2 separate regions of the Homo sapiens genome follow, and region 1 is linked to region 2. The links are contacts of gene promoters, found by promoter capture Hi-C in blood cells and fetal thymus (Javierre and others, 2016). All regions are on one chromosome and are shown on one strand. The core of a region is centred on a gene start or on the middle of the fragment in contact, and the rest is flanking DNA. Distances in the headings are between cores, read along the strand shown. Region 1 has its middle 8.4 kb from the start of EDNRB-AS1. Region 2 holds the start of EDNRB (endothelin receptor type B).

Region 1 (4,604 bases), core at 720-3,219, 110 kb after region 2:
TGTGTGAACTTCATGGGGCCACTGAGACTAAAATGACCCAAAGCTCAAGCTTAATAAACATCAGTTATTAATTGGTTCACTCTTTATTCCATGTATAATTTTGTAGGGCTTGGTAACAAGTACCAAAATAACTATAACAGCTTAGTAAAATAAGAAAGTATTCAAATTTTTAATTATAATTGTATTGTATTAATAGTCTCCTTCAATTAATTGTATTAATGGCTACCTTGAAGTTATGTGTAATTAACAAAATGGAAAGCATTCTTTGAGATAATGACACTTCACACAATGTATCTCTTTAGTGTGTCTGTTATACATTTCCTCTTATTATAACTTTGTAACATTCATTGCTTCATGCCAATAGCCAAGCATTTAGAAGTCAGTGTTGCTTGTGTTATCCATACTGGTCAATGAAGTGCACTAAGGCAGTTTGCTTCTTCAGCAAGAAAAAACTTAAAGATTTGGACTACAATTTAATATTAGGTTTGCCTTTTAAGACAAGTGTCAAGGAGCCAACTTCATTTTCTTTTCCTATACTAAGGAAATGAACTTATTCTCCTCAAAAATGACTTGAGGCAAAAGACATTAATGGTTCTTCTATTCTCAGATTAGAAGAAAGTAGAAGACCACATGAGTACCACATGAGATCAACTAGTCATTTCCTGAGACTCTGGTTTGGATTCACAAATAATAAAATGGGAAATAACTGTATTTTTTCATTTATTGGTTATGATAAAGATATTTGCATAATAAGATATTTTATATGTATGTACCATCTACTAGGAGGTTATTTCTTAGTGAAAGATGTGAAGGTTATCATTGTCCTGCATTTCACTCATTGAAAATTGACTGTTTCATTTGCTATATGTTCATTCATTCCATATTTCTGAGATATACATCCTGTTCCTAAACAAAATTGAAAATTTTATATCAGTTCTTAAAGTGTTATATTGATATTCCTTTCAAAAGTTATTAATTCTGATATTTTACTATATAGAATCAATATGTTTACAGTCTATTTTTCATGTGATCCCTTACAGATTTTATAGAGTACTATAATAACAATAATATATAATGTACATATAATTATATAATGCTTTCTAAGTGTTAGAACTACTCTTCTCAACAGCCCTATGGGTTATGTAATTATTCCTGTTTTACAGATAAGGAAATGGAGGAACAAAGCAGTGAAGTAATCTGTCCAAAGCCCAAAAGTTGAATTGTTGAAACTGACATCTGAAAGCAAGTAGCCTGGCTTCAGAGTATATGCTTTTAATCGCTGTGTTATATACTGCCTCTTTATATGTGATAATATAGTATATTTATTAAGTTATTAAAAGAAACATAAGTTTCTTTGTTGCCAATTCAGAGTCCCAAACATAGTTCCAAATGAGCTCGAATTGCCTTTGTGTCAAAAACTACCTATCCTCAACCTGTCTTGCAAACGCTCTAATTTTACAGCTCTTGTTTTCTCCACACTTTAGTTGATTTTGGTGATTAAAGAGAACTGTTCACCTACAACAAAAACAAAAACATTTCTGCCGATAGCAAGAAGTGACAGCTGAAACAGCATTTAAAGTACATCTTGAATAAATGTTCAAAAGCGTAGCCTTAGGGCAATTTCCTGTTTTACTGGAAAATCTACTTTGCTAGTGTCTGATAAAATTGTATGAACAGTAGAAGCTTAATTCTCCAAGGCATGTTCTATGAAGCATCTGACAGCTTATCTGATGAAATCTAGTCTACTACCAGTTCAGAGAGATCACGTGCCCCTCACAGAGGAAGCCCCATTGGAATGGCTCTTGTAGCCTTGGGGCTGATGTTATTAGTTCCTAAATGAAGTGATTAGTGTTTCTTTGACTTATTTTCCAGCAACTGTACATATGCTTGACAAGCCAAAGGTTTTCCATCTTGTACAATCAATCTACTGTTGAAAATGACTTGCTTGTGTGAGGAAATATTATTAGGGCCATTTAATACTTTAAGCCATCCAGGTGATTCAATAAATTTAGACAAAATTAAGTCATTACTTACATGAGATTGAATGAAGTGTTACAATTAAATGTCTCACTTTCTGTAAACTATGGCAGGAATAAGCCACCATTCGTAAATGGAAAGCCAAGGGGACAGCTCAATGCCTCAAGTCTGCCACGAGGTGGTAGAAGAGAGTATGATTTTAAAAAAATGTGTCCTATCTAAAGTATGATCTATGCCAAGTATACTAGCTTATTCTGAGCTTCACTGTCAAAGCTTATGGTGACATATATAACCACTATTGGAGTCTTTGCACTCTAGGTAGTTGCTCAAGTTTCTCTCTCTCTCTCTCTCTCTCTCTCTGTGTGTGTGTGTGTGTGTGTGTGTGTGTGTGTGTGTGTGTGTGTACTTTTTCACATCAAATCCTGATCAGTACTGATCAGCCTGGTTAAAGAAAATATTTATGACCTGATATAAATGTGATCCTTCAAAAAATGATTTGAAATATAGCCTTTGGGCTAAGGCATCCCAGCACCAAGCTAGACAACAAAACAGCATCATTTTGGGGTCCTTGTAGAATTGTTCTTGGTGGTTCTCATAACATTATTTTTAGGGTCCCTATAAGTTTATGTTTTACCCACTCTGGCTTATATGTGCTATAACATTATAAGGGAAAACATGAAAATTTTGATGATATTTACCATATAGATGCTGTAGAGGATATTATTCCTCACATCACACAGTTTCTTCCTTCTGAGAAAAGCCAAGAATACTTCTCTGGGGTCCCAACATTATTCTGCTTTTGAATCTCTGGTTAGTTCTTGTCTTGTGAATACTGTGAACGTTGTAATTATTCTTCCTCTTCCAGACAATGGAATGCCAAAATTGCAGCTCACCCCTAGAAAATGCAACAAAGATTCCCATAGGCATTTTGTATAATCTGATCTCGTGCCTGGCTTCATACAACATTTTTAATCTGATCTACTCTTGGGATGTTTCTACTCTTCCACTTATTCAACCAAGAATGGTATCCATTAAATTTCTATAGAGCATGTCAGGGTATAAATAAATGAATGGCTAAATGTCCTAGGGTTAAGCCTATCTGTCAGTCACACTCCAAGGTGATTCTCATGAAGGCATGACTAAGATGAGGATGAAAATGAAGACACAGATTCTGAGCCTTATGAAGACCTGATAAAGCCAATGACACAAAATTCCTTCATTTACTGGCTCTGCAATGACAAGGAAATTACTTAACTTTCCTGAGTTTTCCCATTTCCACATTTTTAAGTGAGAAAAAATATATTTTTTGTAAATATTAGATGAGATAATTCATTCATTTATCCTACCAGTAGAGTAGCTACTACACTATGTATAACAAACTATTCCACATGCTGAACATAGGACAGAAGACAAGACAGGAAAGGGCCCTACTCCTCTCAATGAACATTCTTATGGGGGGAGACAGAAAATAAACAAGTAACCAATAAACAAACAAGATAATTTCAAACAGTAGTAAATGCTATGAAGGCTGTGATAGATAAATTGGTTGCATGAGTCTTGTTGAGAAGGTAACATTGAGCTAAGACCTAAGTGATGAGTAGCATCAGTTATATGAAGGAGAGGGAAGCGTGGTTTAGGTAAAGGCATTAGCAAATACAATGGTTATGAGATGGAAACACACTTGTTACCATCAAACAACAGAAAGAAGGCCACTGAGGCTGATTATGTTGAGTGGGGACAGAAGGCTTGAGAAAGAGAGAAGATATATATGTCACTTGCTCTGTATTCAGCATATAGTCAGTTGTCATATGTGGTAAATGTCAATTGTTGTGTTGTACTATTTTTAAGTAAAGATTGGAAAAGAGATTGCGTACGGTTATGTTTACCACTCTTAGAAGGGAAAAAAAAAACCTTAAAATTCCTAAGTTCTGCCATGAACCAACATATGAAGCAGAAAGCAAGAAAGTGGGGCAATGTTAACTCCCTAAAGAGGCAGCCAGGATTTGTTCTCTGAGCATGAGCATAAAGCAGGGGCTGTGATCAAAGTACCTAAAGGTGTCATCAATACACCTCCAGAGCCCACTCCAAAGCCCTGATATTCCAAAGAGCCAGACTCTTAATCGGGATACAAAACTAGGACTGAAGTGGGTTCTTCCTCAGTCCACTCATTCAGTAGAAGCTGCTTCATCAACATGGAGTCAACTGAACTCAATTTCCCCTTCTCAAAAAAGCAATAGAAAATAACTATAATACAGCTTCTCCTTTTCAGGTATTTGATAACTACTAAGGAGACAAGAACATATGCACAAGAAAAAATGAAAAATTACTACTGTGCAATGGGAAAGCTCACTACCCTCTGCAAAGGCTGAACATATTATTATATGTTGCATCATGCCATGGTGTACTACCCCCTCACTAACTCTGTATATAATCATCCTTTAGAAAGGCAATAGCTATTTATTACATTAATTACCACAATCATAAGGGAACTTTTAGAGAATACGTAGTCTTTTGGTCATTTCTAACCATTTCAACTACAGCCATCATCCTAAATAGCCTCAAATTCTCAAGCAGCATTTGTTTGCTCAATGAGAAAAGTACAGTGACCAAATCTATGTGGCTGAACT
Region 2 (4,931 bases), core at 587-3,086:
AGCCTTACTCCGTAACCATGTTCCTAACCACATTTCACACTTAAAGTTCACCTTTTTAAATAGAAATTGATTTTCTACTTCCACTGTCCCAGAAAGCATTGCCTAAGAGCCAAAAATCCAAGGTTCTTGTCCCATCTATTCCATTAACTAACATGAAGCAAAAAACGAGCCTCCTGTCTCTGGGTGAAACTGCTACATGGAATGGGTGCTTCTGGGTTTGAAGTTCCACAGATCCAGTAGGGATTTTGCTGATTGGAGGACGGCACAGTACTCTCCAGTGCATCTCCAAGCCTGACTTCCTGACCTCTTTTATACAATCTCTGGGCAAAACTACCAGTCGCTGTTATTTTCCTCTCTGCGGTAAACATGGAGCTCAAGAATGGATAGAAAGACCTTATTGTATTGCTCTACCTGGTAAATAAATATCATGTTGAATTTGCATGGCAGCTTTCTGATTATTTTCATGTCTCCGATAAGCATCAAGTCTGTCATAGGTACAGTATAAAAATGCCTGAGATTGCCTAACACCGATACTGTGGCAGGAAGAGAGGAGAAGAGCTGTACTGGGGAAAATGAGGAGTACTTGTAATCCTCTCTCGGGGCAGTGAGAGGGCCTGGGAAGAAAAGATCGAGCTGTTCCGTGTTGGGGTTAATGTTGGCTTGAAATGAAACTTCAGGGCAAAATGAAGCAGAGCAAAGAGCAGCGCCCACAAACCAACCTTAAATATCACAGCGGCGGAACATTTACCTGAAAGAAAAGTGACACTTGGCATTAAAAGTTCAATTATCACGTTCAGTGCAGAGCCTTGTTCTAGTCTGGAGCTGCCGGGTGTCACATGGTGCGTGATAACTTGCCCTTGATTTGGGTTCATTTGAAGAGCGTAGAACTCTAACAAATAAACAGCCTTTTGGGACCTGTCCCCGGACGAGGACTGCCCCCCTCCCTCGGGCAACTACTACTGATGCTGTCCAGGCATCGCCCAAGGGGAAAGGTTGCAGCGGGGTCGGAAGGCGCGGGAGGAGTCTGGCGGTGATTGATGGGAAGGGATGAATGAATAAAAGTACTTGTCTGATGGCAGCAGAGACCCCGAGCAAACGGTGGAGGCTACACTGTCTGGCATTCTCGCAGCGTTTCGTCAGAGCCGGACCCGCCTGCAGCTCAAGGGAGGCGTGCTCCTCTCCCAGAGCAGGCTGGAACCCAGCTGGGTTCCGCCTCCCGGGAAGGTGGTCTCCATTCGTCGCTCTGCATCTGGTTTGTCAGATCCGAGAGGTAAACATTCGGGCTTGGTGTTGAATTAAAATCATTGATTGAACCTTATTCTGGGGCTTCGGTTTGGCTTACTAGTTTGGGATTTTAAAAAAATAAAAATTAAGCCTATAGAGAGGGCAAATTAAAATTAGGTTGGGTAAAGGAAGGAGCGCGAGTGTTTGAAGCCGTTTGGAGGGAACAGCGGTTTCCAAGTTCCTGCTGACTTGAGAAGTCTCTGCGGGTTTCCGAATCTCCGGCGCACTCCTGGGCGCGCTGCGGGAGCTGTAGCTCAGCCAGCCAGGGAGTAGCGGCTTTCATCCGCCGGGAGGAGTCTTTCGAGTTCAATCGCGGGGTATAGAGGTTCCCCTGCGGGGCAAAATGCAGAGCTTGACACAAGCCCTTGGCCTCTAGGTGCCTTAATTCCGCGGTTCCCACGCACGCTTAACTAAGACGTGTCTGTATTCCTCCCGTTACGTGAAAGAGTTCGGAGCTTTGCCTGGGACCCCCATCATTCCCTCCCTGGCACACCCCTTCCAGAACGCCCCGCCCCACTGCATATTATTTACCCCTCCTGGCCACGCGGGGGAAGAAAAACAGCTGAGAGGGCATCAGGAAGGAGTTTCGACCCGCGCTGGCGAGTCATGAGCGCCAAGTTTCCCACTGGCGCGCAAACTTGAGTTACTTTTGAGCGTGGATACTGGCGAAGAGGCTGCGGGCGGTATTAGCGTTTGCAGCGACTTGGCTCGGGCAGCTGACCCAAGTGTCCTGTCTTCCTTCCTCTGCTTGTCTCTAGGCTCTGAAACTGCGGAGCGGCCACCGGACGCCTTCTGGAGCAGGTAGCAGCATGCAGCCGCCTCCAAGTCTGTGCGGACGCGCCCTGGTTGCGCTGGTTCTTGCCTGCGGCCTGTCGCGGATCTGGGGAGAGGAGAGAGGCTTCCCGCCTGACAGGGCCACTCCGCTTTTGCAAACCGCAGAGATAATGACGCCACCCACTAAGACCTTATGGCCCAAGGGTTCCAACGCCAGTCTGGCGCGGTCGTTGGCACCTGCGGAGGTGCCTAAAGGAGACAGGACGGCAGGATCTCCGCCACGCACCATCTCCCCTCCCCCGTGCCAAGGACCCATCGAGATCAAGGAGACTTTCAAATACATCAACACGGTTGTGTCCTGCCTTGTGTTCGTGCTGGGGATCATCGGGAACTCCACACTTCTGAGAATTATCTACAAGAACAAGTGCATGCGAAACGGTCCCAATATCTTGATCGCCAGCTTGGCTCTGGGAGACCTGCTGCACATCGTCATTGACATCCCTATCAATGTCTACAAGGTAAAGGGCGCCTGCTGAAATCATGGTGGGCTTGAGGAAGGGGGCCTGGTTGGAGACGGGGAGATGAGAAAGCTTGTAGAGGGAGCTTCCCTTTAGCTCCCTCTTAAGGTTCTGCCCCTCCTAAAAGTCAGTAATCTTTGGAACCAAATTCCATTTGGTTCTGTCCACTCATAAAAGTCAGTAACCATTGGAATAAAATTCCATTCAGGTCTTCAGTAGACCTCTGCTAAGCTTAGGACAAGCGTAGTCCCCAGTCTAGCAATGTTAGTATCACTTTGGGAACTTGGTGCACATGAAGATTTTTCTGGCCTCACCCCAGACCTACTGAATCAGAAACTCTGGAGTGGAGCACAGTAATTTGTATTTTAACAAGCCCTTTATGTGATTATGATGAACTGTAAAGTTTGAGAACCACTAGTCCTGAAGGATCTAGTCCCTAAGTGCACCTAATGGGGTACATCCTCTAGTCAAAAGTGTGTGGTCCATGGACAGTCAGCATCAATATTACCTGAGAGTTTGTTAGGAATGCAAGGCTACCTCAGACTTACTAAGTTAGAATCTGCATCTTAAGATCTTCATGTGATTGATATGCCCACTAACTTTGGGAAGGACTGTTTTGGAAGACTTTGAAAGTAGCAGGTACAAAGTAGGTATTTAGGAAATAAATGGCCTGGAAAAAAGAGATCCAGACTGGTGAGTAGGAAAAACACAGTTCACCTGCTGTGACGGACTGTAGCTACTTTGTATTAAATATCTACAGTGGGCCAAGGACTGGGTGAGATGTGTTACTTCCATTATTCCTTCCAGCAGCCCACAAGTAGATATTACAATTAGTTTACAGATGACTGGTAGGATGATCAAAGTAAATGAATTAGAGGTGGAGCTGGGGATCAGACCCAATCTGTCAGGTTCCAAAGTGCAAGCTATATGATGGCACCCCATCAATTATTTCATGGACAAGACCAAGGAGCACTCAAAATCTGTAAGGGTTTCGGTAGTTAACATTATTGTGTGATTACCATGGGCGTCAGTAGAAACACACAAAGAGCCAGGTTGCTCCAGGTTGCTTTGGAACTCCAGACACATCCCAGCACCTCTGGGCCTCAGTTTCCTCAATTCCACAATAAGGCTGCCAGTGCCCACTTACTGAGGCTTTATGGTGTTAAAAAAAAAAAAGCAGTCTAAATAAAACAGTTGGAAAATTTCAAAGACATATGAAAATATTTAAAACTTTCCCAGCAGCAGCAGCAGCAGCAGCAATAGAAAGTTGCACATAAAAACACAATCACAGTGTAAGGAAATGGAATTGTGCTTTGCAGATTTGCCTATAGCTAGCCCTGACTTCAGTACTTCAGTACAAGGGGAAAAAAATGGAATGTAAAGTTGGGAAATGTTGTAGGGAATGCTTTGACCTATTGGCAGGAGTAGTTACCATAAGGCATGCCTGTAAATTTCCCTTCATAAATCTCTAAAAATCCTAACCCAATAGCTATATTTTAAGGGGAATTCCGAACATTTCTGAGGTTTAGCGGTGAGAGTGGATTAGGATATAGTTTTCTCTAAAGGGAATCACCCCCGGAAATGGGGGAATCGATTGAAGAAATCCTAAAATCCTGTATGGCAATTGATTCTGATGAACTGTGAGGATTTACTTGGTAAGAGCTGAAATTGAATCTCTAAATGCAGCCACAACTCCATGAGGGCCAGAAGTGACCCTTTTACTTCTTAAGGCGTCCCACAAACTAAATCTTCCCATTCTAATTTGGCAAAGGAATTTCAATTCAATTCATCAAAACCGAATTGAGAACTTTTCAGTACAAGGTGTTGTGATAAATTTAAAATAAATCTAACAAGATCTCTTCCCAAAGGGAGATTAAAATCTAGTTTTGCTAGGTTGGCACAGGATTTTATGAAAGTTCTGTTTAGGGGGTCAGGAAACCCCACATGTCCAGCCCAGTTAGAAACCTTTCTAAATCAGACAGTAGCTGAAGTGCTGTGTAGAAGGTGGGATTGAGAACATTTTTTTAGTTCTGGTGTGCTGCCTCCAGGACAGATATAAATCAGCTCTTCCAGAACCATCTTATTTCCTCTGTCTGGTTAAATGAGTATTTGTAATAAACTAGAGAATTTCTGACTCCCCAAGAGGTCATACAGTTTCCCTTTCATTTCAAACTCCCATATGATTTCCCTAGGAAGTTACATCCTTTTCCCTGAAGCCATCCAGTCTTAACATGACTGTGTTTTTACTTCTGAAATAAGCCAATGAGTCATTATAAATCTGTCCATCCATTAATCTACATGGGTCACAAACACATTCATCACATTACGTCCCATCACTAAGGTCATCATTATTGA

What was found. Contacts are between HindIII fragments. The CHiCAGO score rates a contact against its expected background, and 5 or more counts as called.
Region 1: a fragment that was not itself captured here is called in contact with the fragment with the promoter of EDNRB in region 2 in 1 of 17 cell types (monocytes); the score reaches 5.3 in monocytes.

The regions. Positions count from the first base shown.
Region 1 is chr13:77,808,185-77,812,788 of GRCh38, reverse strand. No RefSeq gene overlaps it. Among named protein-coding and RNA genes, the nearest start is that of EDNRB-AS1, 8.4 kb to the left of the region's middle. The HindIII fragment of the contact is 567 bases long and covers 1,686-2,252 here.
Region 2 is chr13:77,915,736-77,920,666 of GRCh38, reverse strand. EDNRB (endothelin receptor type B) reads left to right here and starts at 1,836. Exons shown (of 7, transcript NM_001122659.3): 1 at 1,836-2,576. The coding sequence starts at 2,094. RefSeq lists a cis regulatory region at 1,470-1,479 and promoters at 1,731-1,845, 835-1,907. The HindIII fragment of the contact is 2,812 bases long and covers 1-2,650 here.